4 separate regions of the Homo sapiens genome follow, and all the other regions are linked to region 1. Evidence: promoter capture Hi-C in 16 types of primary human blood cells and fetal thymus (Javierre and others, 2016). All regions are on one chromosome and are shown on one strand. The core of a region is centred on a gene start or on the middle of the fragment in contact, and the rest is flanking DNA. Distances in the headings are between cores, read along the strand shown.

The links. The method cuts DNA at HindIII sites, captures the fragments that hold promoters and counts their contacts. A CHiCAGO score of 5 or more calls a contact.
Region 2: the fragment with the promoter of LINC00842 here is called in contact with the fragment with the promoter of SYT15 in region 1 in 5 of 17 cell types (M0 macrophages, endothelial precursors, M1 macrophages and 2 more); the score reaches 7.4 in M0 macrophages.
Region 3: a contact is called between a fragment that was not itself captured here and the fragment with the promoter of SYT15 in region 1, in 1 of 17 cell types (monocytes). The highest score is 5.1, in monocytes.
Region 4: a contact is called between a fragment that was not itself captured here and the fragment with the promoter of SYT15 in region 1, in 2 of 17 cell types (endothelial precursors and M0 macrophages). The highest score is 5.9, in endothelial precursors.

The regions. Positions count from the first base shown.
Region 1 is chr10:46,577,369-46,583,144 of GRCh38, forward strand. SYT15 (synaptotagmin 15) reads left to right here and starts at 1,760. Exons shown (of 8, transcript NM_031912.5): 1 at 1,760-1,807; 2 at 2,796-3,000; 3 at 3,526-3,668; 4 at 4,528-4,823. The coding sequence starts at 1,801. It overlaps SYT15-AS1 (SYT15 antisense RNA 1), which reads right to left. Exons shown (of 2, transcript NR_155739.1): 2 at 4,800-5,770. RefSeq lists enhancers at 1,625-2,502, 2,503-3,382. The HindIII fragment of the contact is 10,756 bases long and covers 1-5,231 here.
Region 2 is chr10:46,394,542-46,399,662 of GRCh38, forward strand. LINC00842 (long intergenic non-protein coding RNA 842) reads left to right here and starts at 3,821. Exons shown (of 4, transcript NR_033957.2): 1 at 3,821-4,252. RefSeq lists an enhancer at 2,081-2,696. The HindIII fragment of the contact is 4,014 bases long and covers 2,580-5,121 here.
Region 3 is chr10:46,431,041-46,436,876 of GRCh38, forward strand. The region is part of intron 1 of LINC00842 (long intergenic non-protein coding RNA 842); the gene reads left to right. Among named protein-coding and RNA genes, the nearest start is that of NPY4R, 32 kb to the right of the region's middle. The HindIII fragment of the contact is 2,801 bases long and covers 2,718-5,518 here.
Region 4 is chr10:46,414,595-46,419,711 of GRCh38, forward strand. The region is part of intron 1 of LINC00842 (long intergenic non-protein coding RNA 842); the gene reads left to right. It also overlaps the pseudogene HNRNPA1P33. Among named protein-coding and RNA genes, the nearest start is that of LINC00842, 19 kb to the left of the region's middle. The HindIII fragment of the contact is 702 bases long and covers 1,137-1,838 here.

The sequences.
Region 1 (5,776 bases), core at 510-3,009:
AAACAGCTCCCTTGCCTCCAGAAGGCACAGGCCCTGCCAACCCAGTTTAGATTCCCGACCCCCCGAACTGTGAGATAACATGCATGTGGCTTAAACTACTCAATCTGTGGTACTTTGTTGCAGGGGCAACAACAAACATACAGACATCTAACTCAGACCCGAGGCCTTGGGTGGGACCCAGGCCCCATTTCCTGAGACACCTGCTCCCACAGCGACCTGGGGTAAGCAGAAGTGGGGGAGGATTCTCCAGACACCCCAGACTGTCTCCAAGTAGAGCGGAGATCTCGCCAGTTAAGCGCACAGCTGAGGACAGTTACTGGGTGAAGTGGCCTGGGTCTCCGCCTTCTCATGCCCCCACCGCCCAGACCCTAGAAGGGGAGTGGCTGCGGCCTCTGCACCCTGGCGCTGAGGGCTCCCAGACCCGGCCCAGTGGGGCACCCCAGTTCACCACCCTCCTCGCCTTAGGTGAGCCAAAGCCCAGGCAGGGTGGAGCCTCACGCACACTGACTGCCCCCTAGGACAGGCACAGGTGACGCGGGGGTGTGGGACCCAGGCTATGACTCTGGACATAACCTTCAAGGCTGTAAAACGAGAAGGTCCATCCCCCCAAAACACGCACTCCCCCACAACCACCCCCTCCCCCCCCCCACACACACACACTCCCCTGCACCACAGATACACACATTCCTTTCGCTCCCCACTCAGACGCCTCGAGGCCTCGGCGGGGGAACCATAGGGGCGCGACCAGGGCGCGCCGAGGTGTGACCAGAGAGGACACGCAGCGACCTTACTCCCGCCTTTCCCGCAAGGCGCGTTCGCCAGCCTGGACTAGTGGGCACGGGCCCTGCGTTCTAATAATCACCATAATAATAGGCGCTGGGTGTACAGAGGGGACCCAGGCGACGCTGGCCTCCATCCGATAACCACCGTAACAGGGGCTGGGCCGCGCCGCTCCTCCGCTCTAAGTGCTCTTTACATGCTTCTTAAGTTACCGGCAGGCCAGCCGCCCTTACGAGAGCCCCTCACGGACATTAACCCAATTGAGAAGACTGAACCCAGCTTACGAACGTTAAGTTGTCCCAAATCGCAGGGCTGGCGAGTGAGGAGCCTGAATTGGAACCCAGGAGCTTCTGGAACCCGCTCCAGAATTGCGCTCTCGACCGGTTTGTCCGCTGAGAGCGAACGGGTGCGCGAGCGCCGCATCCCTGCCCAAGGCCATCAGGCAGGCAGCGCTGGGGCCGGGGACCCGCGCGGAGACTCCACCCCGGGATCCGGGAAGGCTCCCCCGAGCCGGGGTCGGAGCTGCGGCTGGAGGGGCCTCGGCTTGAGGAGGATCTGGGAGGGCGGGGGCTCAGTCCTGGCCACCAGGTGTGAGGGGTCGGGTGCGGAGCCCTGTGTCAGACGCGGCGGTGAAGGCTGTAGCCCTGCTCTCCGGGATGGGGGTGGTACTCTCACCCCACCCTGCCCCAAGCCGCAGGGAGCCCCTGGCGCCCCTGGCGCCCGGGACCCGCCCTGGCTGGAGCCCTGCGGTTTCCGGGAGCTCACGGTCGGCTCTGCGCCCCTCCACCGCCGGGCCTGGGCCTGGGCCAGGGACGGGCTGGGGCGGGACTGCGGCCTCGGGGCGCTGGGTCCCTGCCCCTGCCGTGCACTGCGCGGCTCCCCGCGCCGCAGCTGGGCACCAGCAGCACCACGGACCGCCCCTGTGCTCGCCCGACGGCGCCCCGCGGCGCTTTAAGAGACGGCCTGGCAGCCCAGCCCCAGCCGCCCAGACCGGCGAGACCAGCCTGCGGGAGCAGCCCCATGGCGGGTAAGCGAGCCTCGCCTCCCCAGCCCAGCCCCGGCCCCTCTGCGACCCTTCCAGCACTTGCCTCCGCCCCGCCGCCCCCGCTGGGGTGCAGCGCCTGCCCTGCCCGGCCTCGGCGCGCTCTTGGAGGGGCACTGGGATGGAGTAGACGCTGAGGCCCGCTCTTCGCGGTCAGTTGCGGCTTAGGAGGTGTGGGGGGTCCGGCCTTCTCACCACCCCACCCAGTGCAGATCCCTGAGACCTGAATGCCCCGCGGCCGCACGTCACCCTAAGGGAGGCACCTTTTTGGCCCGCCCCAGGTGGCCAGCGGTTGGAACCCAGCGTCTGAGCACCCCCGGGGCGAAGCCTCCTAGGTCCCGCAAATGCGGACGTGTGAGGGCCAGCAGCAACGGGGTCTTGCCCCCTTTTCCTCCCCACCTCGTCCACCGCGTCGCACCAACTCCCCTAAGCGCGTGCTCACCTTGATAGAGGGCTAGGGGAGGGAGCGGGTGTTAGAGAAGAGTCCAGCCTTGCAGCAGGTTCCAGGGCCCCAGAGGGTAGAGGTTTGATTGCAGACCAGGGGGAAGGTACCTTTCAGGGCTTTCCTTAACTGACTGCGTCCACACCCCAGCTCCCCTCCTGGCCTCAACAGGAGCCCAGGGGATATGGAGGTTCTGGTGAGGGCAGGTTTGATTTCTACTCAGAAGCGCAAGGAAATGGCTTCTTTAAGCCAGAATCCCAAGGGCAGGGCCAGCTGTTTTCCAAGGAAAACTAGAAGGTTCTGCCCAGGGCTCTCAGACCCTGGGGTAAACGGCTTCTCCTCTGAGAGCTGGCGGAACCTAGCCAGCAGCATCCCTCCCGGAACCCATCCCCAGCAGGCCTGCTCCTATCACTCCTGAGATCAAACCCAGAGGCAGGGTTGCTGCCCTAGTTCTGCCCCAGCAGGCCAGGGCTGTGAGGGAGAGTGGCTTTCCCAGGCAGGCATCATAGTACTGGTGGTCTCTGCCCCCAGAGCAGCTGGCCCTGGTGATTGGGGGCACCATCGGGGGGCTGCTGCTGCTGCTGTTGATCGGGGCAAGCTGCTGTCTGTGGAGAAGGTTCTGTGCCACCCTCACCTATGAGGAGCTGCCTGGGACACCAGCCATGGCCACCACAGCTGCCTCCAGTGGGCAGCGGGACAGGCCCTGCCAGCCGCATGCTAGGACCCAACTGAGCAGGTGAGGCAGGATGTGGGGCCAAGTGCGCCCCTGGAATTTCCCTCAGGGTGGGGTCGAAAAGGAAAGTTCTGTTTATGGGGGTGCCTCTTCTATGCTGCTTCGGTGCTGGGAGCTATCACAAAGAAACCCCAGAAACCTCACATCAGCTATTAGGCAGGTGTTATGAAACCCATGTTCCAGGTGAGGAATCTGAGGCTCAGTGCACATAAGCAACAGGTCCAGAGAACACAATTAGTAAGTGGCAGAACAGGAATCCAAACCCAGACTGGCTGACACTGTCAGGTGCTGTGTTCCTTCTTCAAATCCCACTGCTGTGTGTGTGTGTGTGTGTGTGTGTGTGTGTGTGTGTGCGTGTGTGTGTGTGTGTGTTGCCTGGTATGGGCCCAGAAAATGGTGCCCTGGCCTCCTCCTGGCTCCCGATGGCTTTTCTTCCTCCAGCCCCTGGTGCTCAACCGTCCTGGCTGAGCGCTCTGAGACCACACCATTGACTTGCCACCTACATGTTGTCTCCCTGACTCTGGACAGGCCACCAGCTGTGCCATTCGTGGTGCCCCCAACCCTTCAAGGCCGAGATTGGGTGCCCCTGCACAGTGGAGAGTGGGCCGATGCCCCATGGGACCCCTGCCCGGCATCAGAGCTGCTGCCTCACACCTCCAGCGGCGGCCTTGGTGAGTGTCCTTGCCAGGGCTGCCCAGAGGTCAGGGTCTGCTCGGGTGGCCCCATCTGCTTTCACCAGCTTGGCTCCGGAACACAACCTGAACCAGCCAGGGATGCCAGGGACCACCCAGGGACCACTCTTTCTGGGTGCTTTCATTTATGAAGTGCTTGCTGCACCCCATGAGGGTAAGATATGGCCTTGGGTGCTGATTTGGAGTGAGACCTCACCATGACTCTGAGGGGGAGGAATTATCACCCCATTTTACATAGTCTTAACTGAGGCTGTAAGCAACAGATTGGAATTGGAACCCAGGCACGCCATGTACAGAACTTGTGCTGGGTCCCACTCTAGGATGATGGGTTGGTTGACCAAGAGGACAGAATGGTAGGGGCTGCAAACACAGCTTTCTGCCACCTCTTTGCCCTGAAGATCTACCAAGAGACCATCACAGGAACCACCCAATAATCACCTTGGCCCTTCTAATTTGAAGAGGAAGAAGAAAGGCAATGTTTTATCGCTGAGTCATTCCCTAGACGCCATGGAAGGGGGCTAGGCCAGGTGATGGGCACTGTGTCCTTGAAACAGGTCCTGACCTCCAAGGATGGGGGCCAATCCCAGGGGGCAGGACTCTGCTGGATCCCCAGCCTGGCCATGCAATGCCTTCATGGTGAGAAGGCTTCTTGGAGGAGCTGCACCAGAGAGAGGGGATGTGTTTAGCCTGGTGAGGAGAGTGGGGCAGATGTGGTCAGGCTAGCTGAGGCTCAGCAGAGACGGATGGGCCAGGATGGGGATGGGTGCCCAGAGCTTGCCACTGTCTCCCATGCCCCTGCCTTCCTCTGGCCTGCCAGCCCTCCCACCCTCTGTCATAGGAGATGCATGTATGGTGGGGGCCATCAACCCAGAGCTGTACAAGTTCCCGGAGGACAAAAGTGAGACCGACTTCCCCGACGGCTGCCTGGGGCGGCTGTGGTTCTCGGTGGAATATGAGCAGGAGGCTGAGCGGCTGCTGGTGGGCTTGATCAAGGCACAGCACCTGCAAGCCCCCTCGGAGACCTGCAGCCCCCTGGTGAAGCTCTACCTGCTGCCCGATGAGCGGCGCTTCCTCCAATCCAAGACCAAACGCAAAACCTCCAACCCGCAGTTTGACGAGCACTTCATCTTTCAGGTACAGCCTCTGGAGCAGGCAGGGTCTGGTGCCCTCCGCGTTGCTGGGAAGGTGCAGACCTACAGGAGAGCCCAGCCTCCTGTACCAGCCAGGGCTCTGCAGCCCCCGGGACCCTTGATGCCACCAGCTCTGCTTTACCTAGTCTGCTAGGTTAAGGCCTATAGGAGCTGATCCCTGATAGAGGGGCAGGGGAGAGATTTGGTGAGTGGTGACCAGAAGCCTGGGCTTCCCTGTCCTGACTACCTGGAAGAGAGTGGGTGAAAACACAATTTTAGAGCAACTACTGAATGCCAGGCCCTGGCCTATGGGGCTCAGGGGAATTATCCCAAAGGCCTGAAGCACTATGGGGTTTCTGGCAAGTTTATCTAAGGAAGGCAAAAGACAGGCCTCAGCGTGAATGCAGAAGCTTCCTGTGCTGTCAGAGGCCAGCGCGGGGCCCGAGTGCCCTCACAGGGTAGGTGTGGTGCCTTGCTGCACTCTGGGCTGGCCGGCTTAGGGTCTGGAGGTGGAGAGTCTATTGGGGCACCGAGCCAGTTTCACAGGGGCCTGGGAGCCTTAGCAGGTGACTGGGGGCCCTTAGGGGAAGGAGTCATCGAGACCTGCCAAGAGGCCTTGGACAAACATGTTCTCAAGAGCTGGGTGGCAAGCTAGCCAAGAGGTGAGGTTCAGCCAGTCAGCTTTCAGGAGGAGTGTGACTGCGGAGGCCAGGGCCATCACTTGTGCCTTCCGCCCTGGCTGAGAGCTGGGAAGAGGGGTGCCATCGGGCCTGGTCCCGGGCCGTCTTTCTGAGGCCAGGGCTGTGAGAATTCACAGGTGAATCGCTCTTCTCAAGACATCAGAATCCAAGGCTGCAGCCTTGCTGACGTGCGACACGTCATGCTTGCAGGCTAATTTTTCTTAGCTCATCACTTCCCCACTCTATCTCGCCCCAGCTTGATCCAATCCCTCTGTGG
Region 2 (5,121 bases), core at 2,571-5,070, 180 kb before region 1:
AATTAGCTGGGCATGGTGGTGGGCCCCTGTAGTCCCAGCTTACTCGGGAGGCTGAGGCAGGAGAATGGCGTGAACCCGGGAGGCAGAGATTGCAGTGAGCAGAGATAGTGCCACTGCACTCCAGCCTGGGTGACAGAGCGAGACTCTGTCAAAAAAAAAAGAAAAAAGAAAGAAGAAAGAAAGGAAGGAAGGAAGGAAGGAAGGACTTAGAGGATCTCTCTGCCCTGCAAGCTCCCCTGACCACTGGTTCGATGGGTTCTTTTGCAGCCCACCCCAAAACAGGCCTCATGTGGCCAAACAGGAGCCTTGAGAAGAGCTGCAGCCAAGGAAATTTGGTCAAGTCCAAGTACATGCCCAGCAAGGGGATCTGCTTAAGCAGAGTCATGAAGTTGATCATCTCCCCTGATGGGGCAGAATGGACATCACCCCCACTGCCTCCCTGCCAGCAGAGAAATGTGGGACAGGCCTGGAAGCAAGAGGTCTCCTCAGATTAGAGGGGAAGCTCTCTCTGCCTGGGGTCAGAGCTGGAGCAGCATGGGTGTAAGGGGTCACGGCCCCATGTGCTGACTCCCACCAGGTGACCCCCATGGCACCTGGGGAAGGAAGCAAAGGGGCCCTGGCCAGGACACCAGCAGCATCCACAGCACCTGCTAATCATTTTTGCTGGAGTAACCTTTTGGGCACTTCTGGTAAAGCAGACACGCTCCACAGGTGCTTTTGCAATTGCTCTTTGGAATTTGTTAAAAACACACCTATGTTTTTAAAGATAATTTGGAGTCTGCCCAGTTTAATTTCAGCATAGGGGAAAAATAAGGGAATAGTGACAAAGTTTCTTTGCTTGAGCAAACTTGAGTCAGGCTCCTGAACCTTCTAGGCTCATCTGTGTACTTTCTTGTAAAATTCAATTTGAGCAAGAATCCCACTAAGTCAATTCAGCAAGAACTCCCCTTGTTCCTATCTGACCACTCCCAATATCCGATCAGGGTCCTCATCCTCCACCTTCCCAGGTGATGTCTGGTCACCCTGGCCTTTCTTCAGCAGGTCTCCTGTTAGGTCAGTTTAGCCAGCATCACCCTCACCCCTGGCATTTCCTCTTGGTAATTTTCCATCTTTCAACTCCTACCTGCTCCATGGCTCCAAGTCTCAACTTCTCATGCTGTTTTTAGAATCAGCCTGACTGTATATTGAGGTCTCTTTTCGCTTATTGCAATAGTCCTGAATAAAATCTGGTTTTACTACTTTATCGTCTAGCTCTGGTTTTTCTTTGCCATAGGTATTCCCTACCTGTAGCCTTGCCATAGCTCTATCATCGTTGCTTTTTAATTCCCTCCAAGAGATGATATCTACATATACTCCTTCTCTATCCTCAGATCAATGTTTTGCATTTCCTAGGAGCTGAATTCCTTTTCTTCCATTGCAGCACTGGCTGGGAGAGAAGGCACAACATGGTCCAGCATACTGAGCCCCAAGTTTGTCCTGCAGCATGATTTGAGACACAGTGTTCGTGCCGCACAGAATTCTGTGAGCCGTCCAATAGCCTTTCATACATTTGTTTTCTGCTTAAACTACAGAGTAGATGCTCTTGTCAGCACCTAAGAACACCCTCTATTACACAGAACTACACCCTAATGACATTTTATCTGTTTACGTGTCCTCTCAGAAAAGCTGTGAGCCCCTTGAAGGCAGGAACTTTATTTGTTTTTAAACATTCAGGGCCTAGTAGATAGCAGGCTTTCAACAAATATTTTTGAATAACAACAAACAAGAGTATGGACTTTGGGAACAGGAGAGCCTAGTAGCCAGCGAGCCTGAGCCAATCCTTGATGGCCTCCAATTCTGAGAAGAATCTCTGGGCCCCCTTAGGCTCCCTGTGGAAGAAAGCTTACCCAGTCAATCCTAATAAAAATACTTCTGAGACAGATCTAACAGGACAAAGTGGAGTCTCTCCACTCTTTCAGTAGCTCCTTCACCCCAGGTGCTGTTTGGGGTTCTGACACTGCCATGGCATGGCCAGCAGGATGGCCCCTAGGGCTCCTGGGGCTGCTCTATAAGAGCTTCCCACCCCTGACCTGCAGTCCATGAGGGCAAAGCCAGATCCGGGCACATGCCCATCCGTGTTGTTCTCATGCTCTCAGGGGGTAGAGCTAGTGTGTTGGACTTGGCATGTTTAGGGTCACCTCCCTGAGGGTTGACAACCTGAGCAAAATCAGCATTCCCTTGGCAAGGAATAAAGGGGGAATGGATTTGTGGTCAGCAACCCACCGCCAAGCATTCTGCCTGCAACAGGGTGGGGCTGGCCAGGGGAGGCTCCTCAGGGAAGGTGAAAGCTGTGCAGAGTTTTGCAGGATGACTCAGTGCTTATCAGGTAGACAGATAAGGAAGAACATTCCAGGGAGAGGGAGGAATGCTAACAACAGCAGGGGATCTGGTCTGTACTAGACATGCCAAAGGAATGGTGTGTCCATATCAACAGAGGAGGGAGAGACAGAAGAGAAAGAGCTTGTCAGGGCCTGAGTCAGAGCGGGCTCATGCTGTGGGGCTAAGAAGCTCAAATGATTTCCAGAGACAGTGGGGAAGCTTTACAGGGACAGGCAGGGGAAGATCTTAACCCGGCTTTCGTAGGCCTCTGGCTTGAGTATAGAAGGTGAGTCTGGGACAGGGAGCCCAGCGCCGAAGTGTTGCAACACTATAGGGAGACATACAGACCAATTCCCTCCCACCTAACAGCTCTGTGCTTTGGGGTCCTGGGTTAGTTTCCTGGGAGAAGGCTGGCCTTGGCTACCTCTGTCCTTGACCAAGGACATCGTTTTAAATATTTGTGATGTGTCCTAGGCCACTGCATCTCTGTCCCTGTAGCGAAGAGAAGATACTGATTCCTAAGCTCCTACTCTGAGAACACAAATATCTGCAATACCTCGGTAAGCCCTAGGCCTGAGTGTGAGGTTGCAGGCACTTCCATGGCCCCATGCAGGTGTCTAAGTTCCCTCGTGGTATTTGGCCAAGGGGGGCCCTGTGTGATGCCCTAGCGCGGTGACTACCCGTGTTCCTGGCCCATGGGCATCTTCCACGGAATTCTGGGCTTAGCCTGGGGATTCATGCGGGCGCATCTCTGTGATCTGCTCTGGAGCAGGATGTACATCAGGTCTCTCAGACCTGAGTCCCTGGTGCCTGGCGCTCAGCCTTGACTGAAGTGCTCGGCCCACCCTGCTGGGCCAGCCAGCTCCTGCTCAGGGCCACAGCCCTGTAACCACGGCTTCCTCCCCAGGACTCAGGAATTCTCCCACTCCGGAATGCCTTGCTGCTGGGGTGACCAGGTCTTCACTTGTGAAACAGGAGTCAGCCACCTCAGCCCTGCGCCTGGCCTGGTGGAACATGGGTCACCGCCCCAACCTGGGGCAGCCGCCCCATCCCAACGCAGTTGCTGCCGCTCTCCATGCCTCCCTGTGCCCAGCTAACTGGGGGACTTGTCCCCTGGGAAAACCTGGGTACCCAGGCTGCCTTTGGTTTCAGCCCCTACTCCTCTTCCCGGGCTGCCTTTGCTCCCCGGAAGACCCCTTTCCCCGGGCTGTGTTCACATCGGCTGGGAAGGGTCCCTTGCAGACAGATCTTGGACGAGGTCGCGTCCCCCCTCGTGACCAGCAAACTCCTAAAAGCGGCCCTTGCCCCAGAGCCCCTGTAGCCTCCAACCGGCAGTCAGGAGGCAGCGCCGTCTCAGCGCCGCTTAGTGGCGCCAGGCGTGCCTGGAAATCCGCTTTCGCAGCGCCCCCTCGTAGCCGCCTCCGCCCGCAGAAAGGCGTTCCCTGGACAGAGAAGCGGGCGCGCGGGGGCGGGCGCGCGGGGCCTTGCCGGAGAACCTGACTCTCCGCAGCAGCAGTGGAAGCCGGAGTGACGCGTTGTGTTGAACACCAGTTTTCTGGAGCGCTGTGTGTTCTTAACAGCTGAGCAGTCTGTTTCTCCAATCAGGTTTCAAAGCCACTTCAACTGCACTGGCCCCTGTGGGTCACTGCTGCACCGCCCTGACCCATGTGGGTCCCTGAGGAGCGACCTGCCGGGGCCACCTGGCTGGACGAAAAAGACACACCTTGGACTTAAGCCGTGAGAAAAAAACTTCATCAGTAAGAAGAATGAATAAACAGACTAGGTTGAATCCATACAATGGAATGTTAGCAGACAATAAAAAGAAAATGAACTATTGATGTCCCCTACTGCACAGCAGAAGCTCTGAATCGTGTTCCTGAATGAAAGAAGTCAGGTATGAAAGAATAAACATTGTATGATTCCATTTATATGAAAATGAATCTGTGATTTAAAAATCAGACTAGTATTAGGTTGGTGCAAAAGTAATTGCGGTTTTTGCCTTTTTTTTTTTTTTTTAATAGTTGCTTTGGGGTTTATGGATGGAGTGGCATGGTAGAGGTTAGCTGAAGGGGGCATGAAATAACTTTTTGGGGGTGCTAGAGTGTTGTAAATCTTACAGTGGGGGAGGGACAGGAGTGCAGGCATTTGACAAAACACATTGAATTGTGAAATTTAAGATTTTTGAATTTCTTTGTATGTAAATTACCTGCCAATAAAAACATGACGAATAGAGCAGTTATGAGCATTTGTGTGTAGCTTTTTGTGCAAACTTAAATTATAATTTCTCTGATAAAAGCCCAGGAATGTGATTGTTGAGTAATATGGTAAGTGCATGTTTTTTGAGAAACTGTCAATCTATTTTTGGGAGTGGCTGTGTGTATCATGTTATATTCTCACAAGCAAGGGATGAGAAATTTGGTTTCTCTGCATCCTTGCTAGCATTTGGTTTTATCATTATATTTTTATTTCAACTGCTCAAATAAGTGTGCAGTGATTTCTCATGATCTCAATTTGCATTTCCCCAAAGGCTAATGATGTTAAATATATTTCCACATGCTGATTTGACTCGGCCATGAAATGTCTCTTCATGTCTATTGCCCAATTTCTTATCAGATTTTTTTTTTTACTGTTGAGTTTTGAGAGCTCTTTATGCATTGTAAATGTGAGTCCTTTGTCAGATATGCAGTTTGCAAATATTTTCTCCCCTCCATAGCTTGTCCTTTCATCATCTTAACAGAATATTTTGCAGAGGCAAAGTTTTTA
Region 3 (5,836 bases), core at 2,868-5,367, 140 kb before region 1:
GGCTGTCTCTTCACTTTGTCATTTCCTTTGCTGTGCAGCTTTTTAACTTGATGTGGAAATTTCTGGTTTGTATGGTAAGTATATATTTAAATTCATAAGAAACTTCCAAACTGTTTTTCGAAGTGACAGCATTAATCCTGAATTTCCACTAACATTGTACAAGAGTTCTAGTTGCTCCCGATTCTTACAAAAATTCAGAATTGTCGATCTTTAAGTTCAGGCATCCTCATGGTGTGAGGGGTCGTCACATTTCCCTGATGTGTAATGCTGCAGTGCATCTTTTTATGTGTTTATTGGTTGTTTCGGGAAGTGTTTGCTCAAAATTTTCTGCCCATTTTGATAAAGTTGTTTTGTCTTCTTCTTACTGATCTTCCAGGGTTCTTTTTAATTTTTGCATACCATTACTTTGCCAAATACCTGTGTATATTTTCTCCTGGTCTGCAACTTGCCCTTTCATTTTCTTCATGGTGTCTTTTGTAGACCAAAAACTTTTAATTTCAATAAGGCCCATTTATCAATTTTTTTCCTCAAAAATTTTATGTGCCCTGAGAAATCTTTGCCTGCCCAAGTTGTGAAGATTTTCTCTTATGTTTTTCTCTAGAAGCTTTACAAATTTAGCTTTTATTTTTGTCTGTGATACATTTCAAGTTATGGTATAGGTAAGGGTTGAAGTTCACTTTTTTCATGTATAGATCTTCACTTGTTTTAGCACCATTTATTCAAAGACTATCTTTTTCCCCATCAAATTACTTTGGTAACTTTGTTAGGAATCAACATATTATGTATGTCCAGAAACAGGACATCTGATTCTGTTCCACTGATGAATTGTCTAAACTGAAACCTATACCACATGTCTTCATTACTGGCTTTCCTGTAATCTTGAAATAAAGTAGATAAGTCCTCAACATTCATTCTTTGTAAAAATTGCTTTGATTATTCTAGATTATTTGTACTTCCATGTAGATTTTGGAATCGCTTTGTCAATTTCAACCAAAAATCAGGAGAGCTGACTTCTTAACAATATTGGCAATTCACTTTGTCTCCACAATGTTTCATAGTTTTTTACATAGAGATTTTGCTCATCTTGTAAGTATTTTCAAATGGTACTATAGACAGTATTATTTATATAATTTAATCTTCCAAATTGCCACAATTTAGGAAAACAACTGATCTTTTGTTTATTGACCATTGTATCTTATGACCTTGCTAAATTCGCTTATTTTAGTAACTTTTTGTAAATTCCTTAGGATTTTCAAGTACATTATTATTTCTTCTATGAATGGATTCACTTTTACCTCCTCCTTTCGAATCTTATGTCGGTATTTCCTCTTACCTTATTGCACCACCTAGGACTTTTGGTACAATGTTGAATGATCATGGCAAAAGTGGACATTCCTGCCGCACTCCCAACCTGAGGAGGAAAACATTATGTCTTTCACTATCAAATTTGATAATACCTGTAGGTTTTTCATGACAGCATTTTTTCAGGTTGATGAGTTTCCCTTCTACTCCAGTGTTTTAAGAGGATTTTATTTTTTTTAAAAAAAGTACATCGTGAATGAGTATTGCATATTGTCAAATGCTTTTATAACATCTATCTAGATCATCACCTGGGTTTTCTGCTTTAAACTGCTAGAATTGCATTCATTGATTGGTCAATTGCACTGATTAACTTTGCATTTCTAGGATAAGCACTCTTGGTCATAGTGTATTACCCTCTACATATATTCCTAGATTCAACATACTGAAATATTTTAAGGATGTTTGCATGTATATTCCTTTTTTTTTTTTTTTTTTGGAGACAGAGTCTTGCTCTGTCTCCCAGCCTGGAGTGCAGTGGTACGATCTCAGCTCACTGCAACCTCCACTTCCCAGGTTCAAGTGATTCTCCTGCCTCAGCTTCCTGAATAGCGGGGATTACATGCGTACACCACCACACCCAGCTAATTTTTTGTATTTTTAGTAGAGATGGGGTTTCACCATGTTGCCCAGGCTGGTCTTGAACTCCTGGCCTCAAGTGATCCACCCACCTCAGCCTCTCAAAGTGCTGGGATTACAGGCGTGAGCATGGTGCCCAGCTGCATGTATATTCCTTGTGGACATTGGCCTATAAGATTTTTTTCTTGTAGTATCTTTTCTCTGAGTTTGATATCAGGATTATGCTGATCCCATAAATTAAGTTAGAAAGTCTTTCCTCCTCCTTTACTTTCTGCAAGTTTGTATAAAAGTGATACTACTACTTCCTTAAATATTTGATTGAATTCACTAGAGAAGTCACTGGAGCCTGGAATTTTCCTTGTGTGAAAGTTTTTAATTACAAAGTTAATTTCTTTAATGGTTATAAAGCTATTCAGGTTATCTATTTTTTCTTCACTGGGCTTTAGTAATTTTTCTTTTGAAAAATTTTCCCATTTCCTCTGGGTTGTCAAATTTGTTGCCGTAAAGCTTCTATAATATCCCCATATTATTTCTTTAATCTCTACATAGTCTGTAATTTTTATTCCCTCTTTTATTAGTGATGTTGGTAGTTTGTTTTATGACTTTTTATTAGGAGTTTATCAATTTTATTGATCTTTTCAAAGAACTTTTTATCTTATTGACTTTCTTTATTATTCCGTTTTCTATTACATTGTTTTCTGCTATTAACTTGATTTCCTTTCTTCTACTTACATTAGGTTTAATTGGCTCCTCTTTTTCCAACTTCTAAAAGTAAAGCTTAAATCATTGACCTTGGACTTTTTATATTTTCTAATAAAAATCATTTAAAGTTATAAATTTGTCTCTAATCATTACAAAAATTTTGATATTCTGTGTTCTAATTCTTATTTAGGAAAAATTATTTTAAAATATCTTTTGTGATTTTCTCTTTGATCCATGTATTATTTAAAAGTATGTTGCTCAGTTTCCAAATACTTGGGGATTTTCTAGATATCCTTCTGCTATTAACTTCTATTTTAGTTCCACTGAATTTAGATAACATGTTCTATATTATTTTGGTCCTCTTAAATGTATAAACTTGTTTTCTGCCCCAGATATGGTCCATTATAATGAAAGTTTTGTGTTCAGTTGGAAACAATGTGGATTCTACGAATACGGTGAATTGCATTGATTGATTTATTGCGCTGTTGATTAAACTGACTTTGCATTCCTAGGATATAGAACACTACACCTAAAAATCTGTATTTAGGTAGAAGGTTCTATAGGCATCAATTAAATCAAGTTGGTTAGTAATATTGTTCAAGTGTCCTTCCCCTTTATTCATTTTTTCTACTTGTTCTATAAGTTACTGAGAAACAAGTATGACAATTTGTAAATATAAGTGTAGATTTCTCTACTTCCCCCTTCATTTCTGTCCATTTCTTTGTCATATTTTGAAGTTCTATTATTAGGTGAATATATGTTTACAATTTTTCTCTTTCTGATAAATTTATCATTATGAAATGTTCTCGTTTATTTCTTGTTCTGCATATTTCTTGTTCTGAAGTTTACTTTTTCTGATATTTAACTAGCCCCTCCAACTTTGTTATAATTGGTGCTACATGGTATATTTTTTTCCATCCTCTTACTTTTGACCTACCTGTGCCTTTAAATTATTGAGGTCTTCAGACAACATAGAGTTGAGTCTTGCCTTATTATACAGTCTAAAAATATTTGTCTTTTTATTGGAATTTTTAGACCAGTTTCATTTTATATAATTATCAGTATAGTTGGGTATAAATCTACCATTTGTCATTTGTTCTCTGTTTATTTCATCTGTTCTTCATCCTTTATTTCTCTTTTCTTGATTTCTTTTAGAGGAATTAAAAATGTTTATGGTTCTATTTTATCTCCACTGTGAGTTCATTAGCTATAACTCTGGCTTCATGTTTAGTGGTTGCATGAGGGTATACAATATGTATCATTAGCTCATTACAAATATACTATTATAACACTTTATGTACAATGTAAGACCTTACAACCATATACTTCCGTTTCCTCCATTCTGTCCATCATGCTATCATTACATATTTTGCTTTAATAGGTTATAAGCCACACAGTACATTGTTATTATTTTTGTTTAAACAATCAATTATCTTTTAAGGAAATTTAAAAATGAGAAAAGCCTTTGTATTTACCCACATACTTACCATTAAGTGTTTTTCATCCTTTGTCCACTTAGTATCACTTCACATTAGAAACACCTGGTGAGTCTTATTATATTTGTTAGTGTGAGGAAAATAATTGAAAGTATACACCGTTACCCAGCTCCTTGTCTCTTATAAGGGGTTGATTAGGAGTATCCAGTGGTGATATCTTTATTGCTAGATCATGCCATGGACTATTAGTGCTCTCTTTACAATTGGAAATAAAGTTATTAGCAACTTAAAATGTAATCAGATTAGAGACCCAATTTTGGAATAGATAGATATGATTATACTTAAATATAATATATAACTATATATAATTTTGTACATATGCATAACGTGTGTGTGTGTGTGTGTGTGTGTGTGTGTGTGTAAGGAATTGGCTCCTATGATTATTGAGGCTGACAAGTCCCAAAATCTGCAGTTAGTAAGCTGGAAACAGCAGAGCCAATGGTGTACTTCCAGTTCAAAGGCTGGCAGGCTCAAGACTCATAAAAAGCTGATACTTCAGTTCAAAAATGGCAGGAAAAAAAAAAAACCACCTCCCAGCTCAAAGCAGTCAGGCAGGATGAAATTCTCTCTTACTTGCAGGAGAGTCAGTCTGTCTGTTCTATTCCGATCTTCAATAGATTTGATGAAGCCCACCCACATTTCTTAGCCACTGGCATTTAGCAATTGGATTATGTTTTACCTTGCATAGTTTTCTTTGTGCTTATCTTGCTTTTGATCTATTGAGCATCATGGATGGGTGGTTTTGTATGTTTCATCAAATTTGGAGCATTTTTTACCATTATTCAAATATTTTTTCTCTTCCCTCTTTCCTTTCCTTCTCAGCTTCCAATTACAAGTATGTGATCCATATACTTGCATGAATATTTTCCCACAGGTTACTAAAGATTCATTTAAATTTTCTTTTTAGTCTCTTTTGACTGAATTTTAGTTTTGAAAGTTTCTATTGCAACTTTCAAGTTCACTGATCTTTTCTTCTTCACGTCTAATCTGTTCATTTCATAAAGAAATTTTTTTATTTAAGATTTTTATTTTTGGCCCTTGTATTTCCTTTTTAATTTTTCTCCTTCTTTGATGATTACTTTCATGTTTCCTTTAAATTCGTGTGTATATCTGTAATTGGTGTTTTCAATCCTTTGTGTGCTATTTCCAACATCCATCATTCCTGAGTGTGTTTCTATTGACTGGTTTTTCTCTTGGTAGGAGTTGCACTTCTGTGCATCTTTACATGTCTGTATTTCTTATATGACACCAAACATTGTTAATTATACCTTACTTAATGCTAGATTTTGTTGTCCTCCTCTAAAGATTGGTAGATATTTTTCTGGCAGCCAGCTGAGTTACTTAGAAATTACCCTGACCCTTTTGAGGTTTGTTTTGAAGCTTTGACTGAAGGAAAGGGGTTAGATTAGACTTTATTTAGGGCTTCTTTACTCCTCCTGCCAAGACATGACTTTTCTGGGATGTCAACTGAACGCACCAGATTTTCTACAAGGACGCTCCACTCTGGCTGGTAGGAATGCAGGAGTCCCCCCATGTCCCACATGAGCTCTGAAAGTGCCTGCTCACTGCTTTCCAATCACCCTTTGCCCAGCCTCCTGGAGTTTTATGATAGACATCCACAACCTAATTTTTATAACAGATCCATGGGGAACCCTGTTGTATTAATCTGTTCTCACACTGCTATAAAGAATGACCTGAGA
Region 4 (5,117 bases), core at 238-2,737, 160 kb before region 1:
TTAAAGTGGTTTGTTCCTTTGTTCCTCCTCTCCTGTTCTTCCTAAGACATCATCACTGAAATTTAAGCTTATAAATTTAAAATGGAGTAAATCTATAAGGGAAAAGCATTAAAAAAAGAGAGAAAGATGGCTTACTAATGGATGAGAGTCCAACACATTTCTGGAAGACAGGGTTCATGAGAGGCCTAGCACTGTGGCTCCCACCTGTAATCCCAGCACTTTCGGAGGCTGAGGCAGGAGGATCGCTTGAGGACAGGAATTCAAGCCTGCAGTGAGTTACCGTCACACCACCCTACTCCAGCCTAGGCAACAAAGCGAGACCCCATCTCTTAGAAAAGAAAAAAGAAGATTCACAAGAGGGTGTGGCAATATTAGACAGGCTAAGCCCCCAGGTGTACCCAGTGTAACCACAGGGGCCCTTCGGTGGAAGGGAGAAGCAGAAGAGGTCAGAGTGAAGCCACACCTGCTGTGACAATGGAGGGAGAAAGTGGCTGGCCAAGGAACTCCATCAGCTTCTAGAAGCTGGAAAAGGCAAGGAAACAGTCTCCACCCGGAGCCTTATGGGAACACAGCCGCCTCATGGGAACACAGCTGCCCTGTGACACTGATTTTAGCCCCGTGAGGCCCATGCTGGACTTCTGGCCTCCAGAACTGTAAGATTTGTGGTGCTCTAAGCAAATCATAAATTTGTGGAAATTTGTTACAGCAGCAACAGAAAAGTAGCACAGGCAGCCTACGTGCTAATTCTCATCTTACCTGAGGTGGGGTGTACAATACACCCTGCGTTAGTTGGAAAGCTGAAACAATTCTCTAATGCTAATACTGAAATTGTCAGGTCGGTGTAACTGTGACAGTCCGGAAGCAATGGAGGCTTCAGTGAGCAGGACTAGCTGCCTTTCTCACCACCACAGCTTGATCTCTCTCACAACTTCCTCTCCACCTCCACTGACCTCTGGGTTGGTTTTCTCCTGCACGATCTTTCCACGTGTCAGGGGCCTGGAGGCACCCTACAAGAGCTGATTTTACATTTCCTTCCTAGAGGTAATCCCAGAACAAAAGAGAGCAGTTTTATTTATTTTTTTCAAGAGAATTAAATTGTTTATTGATTACACATGATAATGGATGATACACAAGCTTCATTCCCATCTATAATTTAATCTGGTACCATTATTCAATTAGATATGTTACATAGGATGTGCCAACAATTACTTTTATAACCAATAATTCCATGATTTTGCTTGGGTAATCCCTTTTAATGGTGACTGAAATCATGACTGACCGAGTCAGTGGCTAGAAAAGGGGCTTTGCCTTTGTAACTTTTGACGACCATGACTCCGTCGTTAAGATTGTCATTCAGAAATACCATACTGTGAATGACCACAACTGTGAAGTTAGGAAAGCCCTGTCAAAGCAAGAGATGGCTAGTGCTTCATCCAGCCAAAGAGGTCGAAGTGGTTCTGGAAACTTTGGTGGTGGTCGTGGAGGTGGTTTCAGTGGGAATGACAACTTTGGTATTGGAGGAAACTTCAGTGGTCTTGGTGGCTTTGGTGGCAGTCGTGGTGGTGGTGGATATGGTGGCAGTGGGGATGGCTGTAATGGATTTGGTAATGATGGAAGCAATTTTGGAGGTGGTGGAAGCTACAATGATTTTGGCAATTACAACAATGAGTCTTCAAATTTTGGACCCATGAAGGGAGGAAATTTTGGAGGCAGAAGCTCTGGCCCCTGTGGCAATGGAGGCCTATACTTTGCAAAACCATGAAACCAAGGTGGCTATTGGCGGTTCCAGCAGCAGCAGTAGCTATGGCAGTGGCAGATTTTAATTAGGAAACAAAGCTTAGCAGGAGAGGAGAGCCAGAGAAATGACAGGGAATCTACAGGTTACGACAGATTTGTGAACTCAGCCAAGCACAGTGGTGGCAGGGCCTAGCTGCTACAAAGAAGACATGTTTTAGACAAATACTCATGTGTATGGGCAAAAAATTCGAGGACTGTATTTGTGACTAACTGTATAACAGGTTATTTTAGTTTCTGTTCTGTGGAAAGTGTAAAGCATTCCAGCTAAGGGTTTTAATATAGGTTTTTTTTTTTTTTGCACCCATGCTGTTGATTGCTAAATGTAATAGTCTGATCATGACGCTGAATAAATGTCTTTTGTTTTAATGTGCTGTGTAAAGTTAGTTTACTCTGAAGCTATCTTGGTAAATTTCCCCAACAGTGTGAAGTTAGAATTCCTTCAGGGTGATGCCAAGTTCTATTTGGAATTTATATACAACCTGCTTGGGTGGAGAAGCCATTGTCTTCAGAAACCTTTGTTGTAGTTGAACTGATAGTTACTGTTGTGACCTGAAGAGAGCAGTTTTAGTAGTGAAAGTCCTGCAGGATTCCTAGTGGTCAAGATTGGGGAGCATGCCTGTATCCCACAGTGGCCAGGGCCCAGGACATATGCCTGGCCCTGTGACTGGCTGGTCATGGGCACAGGCCCCCGGGAGGGAGGGGAGAGTCCTTTCAGAAGAAGGGGAGGGTATGGGAACAGACCCAACCTGACCGCCCCAGACCGTTACTCTCCCTGAGGTGGATGGAATGCAGAATCAAAGTACAATTATATGGTTTAAAGTTTTAAAAGTAAATAACAGAAAACTAAAAATAATTATGCCAAAATGATAAAACTTTGGAAGGATGAAGGGAGGAAGCAGAGGTGCATAATGAGGCCATTTCTTATGTTCCATCACAGGAGGTAGATAAATTTTCTCCAGATGAATAAAAAAATAAGGGTGCCTATACATGCTACTAAGCATTGTGGAGGCACCCACCAGAAGTACTAAAAATGGAAATGTTTACAAGAAGTTGCCTCTGGAGAGTGAGGCCAGGACTGGGGAGGGGAGAGGATAGAAACTGTTTTCTCTCACCATAAACCCTTCTCTCATATTTGATTTGTTCCTATCTGTTTGTTTTACATTGATCACAAGATGTGCTGTGAGAGTGAAAGATTTTTAAATATTTAGATGGATGTCCTGAGCTTTGATATGAAATGCTGATCTGATCAATATCTAATATTATAACTCCATTTGGGATAAAATTTTAGGGTCATGGGGAAAAAACATAATTTGGAATCATCTTCATTCATATGCAAGTTATGCTTTTTAAGAAGGAAACTCCTTGATTCTCATCTGCTGTGCTGAATCTTTAGGAGTTTAACCTGCTATGTCACATGTTTCAATAAAAGAGAGATGTTCCCAGCCTGTTAAACAACAAACTCGCCTGCTTAAATCAAAAAGCAATTATGAATGAATGAATGAACTCTTGTCATCACCCTCTCTCCAGGAGAGAGTAAGGCACATTCATTCTCACAAGAAGACCTGGCCTCACCCCATTTCTCTGTTTCCCAGGCATATGGCTCATCTGCGTCCAGTGTATGTTTGGCCAGGACACTGGACATGTCCCACTTGGCTCCTGCCTCTTGCCCCTGCCAGTCTGGCCTACGGCCGTGGGTCTGAGGGGAGGACTGGGAGCCATCAGAGACAGCAGCTGGCCAGGATCTGATTTGGAGGCCTAGTACTCAATGCAGAGTTACTCTTCAGGCCCCAGCTCCTTCATGCAGGGCTCCTGGGCCACATATTCAGAGTCAGATTCCCCACCCTTCTCCAGAGATTCGGGTCATTGACTTACACCAAAGCTGGAAGCCATAAATCAGGAGACTTCATTGGTCTCATTCCTGAACCCACCCCTGCAACCTTTGGTCATCGCCCCATAGGCCAGCCCTGGCCATCCACCCATCTCCCTGATGCTCCCTCCATCCTGCTCTGGGACTCCTCTCCTTCCTGCTCTTCCGCCACGGCTGACTCTGCCTCTTCGTCACTGTTCCACTGGGAGGCCCATTTCAGAGCAAATGAGCCCTCTGTGTCATCAGCCTTTCTCTCCTCCCCTGGGGGCATACTCCTTTACCCTAGATGCGGGCTTCTCACTCTCCCTCTTCCAACTTGGCTAAGGACCCAGCAGGACAGGGAGCCTCTTCCTCTTCCCCTTTGCCCTCCTCCCACATCCCATCGTCTTTCGCTCTCTGGAGGTTGGGGGGAGGGGCAGGGTGGAACAATTCCCCCAGCTTCTCACTCCCAGGGCCTCCCCTCCATGATCACCGTCTCCCTCTCCTCCCTGAGGCCGGAGGCCTGGCCATGCCCGTAGGGACAACGTCTCCCCAGCTTGGCCTTGGTGCTCTGGGACCTCCCCAACTGCACAACAGGCTCCCAAGCCGGGAATGCTTTTGTCTCAGCTCCCCTCTAGACCTGGGGAGCCCTCCATGGAAAACCACAGTCGAAAAATGGATTTAGTATCTGCATTGTTCAGGGTCATGGCAAGAAATGGCATTGAATGCTTCAAATGATGAGACTTTAATGGCAGTAGTCCTTACAGAAGTGTGGCCAGGTGAAGAGGATGAACAGGGATGTTGAGAAGCACGAAAACAAACAACTCTAGGATGCTGTTACTCATGGGGCTAGACAGAGAGGAATAGTGTTGCCACAGCCAGTAAGAGCTAGAGATGTGGAGAAGGGGTTTCCAGCAGGAGCTGATGTCTTGGAGAGACACAGCCTTGGGGAGGGGCAGTGGGGACGGGGTGGGGGGATACACTGACCACTCTCTCTCTTCCTATACTTTTGCCTTCCAGCTAGAGTCTCCCACTGGCTAATTCCAACCTCTGCCCAGTCAGTAAGAAAGCCTGAGAGGCAGCTTAAAGACGTCAGGTTCCCAGGGTCAAGCAGGACACATGGCTGTGGGGGTGGGGAAGGAGAGTGGGCAAACACCCTGAAACTAAAAGGAGAGTAGCAGTGCAGAATCCAGGGCCACTGAAAACAGTTCCCAGAGTCCAACTCCGTCGTTTTGCAAATGGAGAAGCCAAGGCTGGAAAAGGTTAGTGATTTTCCCAAGTCACACAAAGTTCGTGGCCAGGCTGAGCCCAGACCCCAGATCCCCATCCCCCCTGCTGCCTGTGACACAACAAAGGCCTTGACACCAACACTCCCTTCTGTGGAGTCCCTTGTAGTGTTTATGCACTAAAAATCATTTTTAAAACATTTTAATAGGGTATATTGCTTTGAATCCCTTCCCCAACAGGAAATATG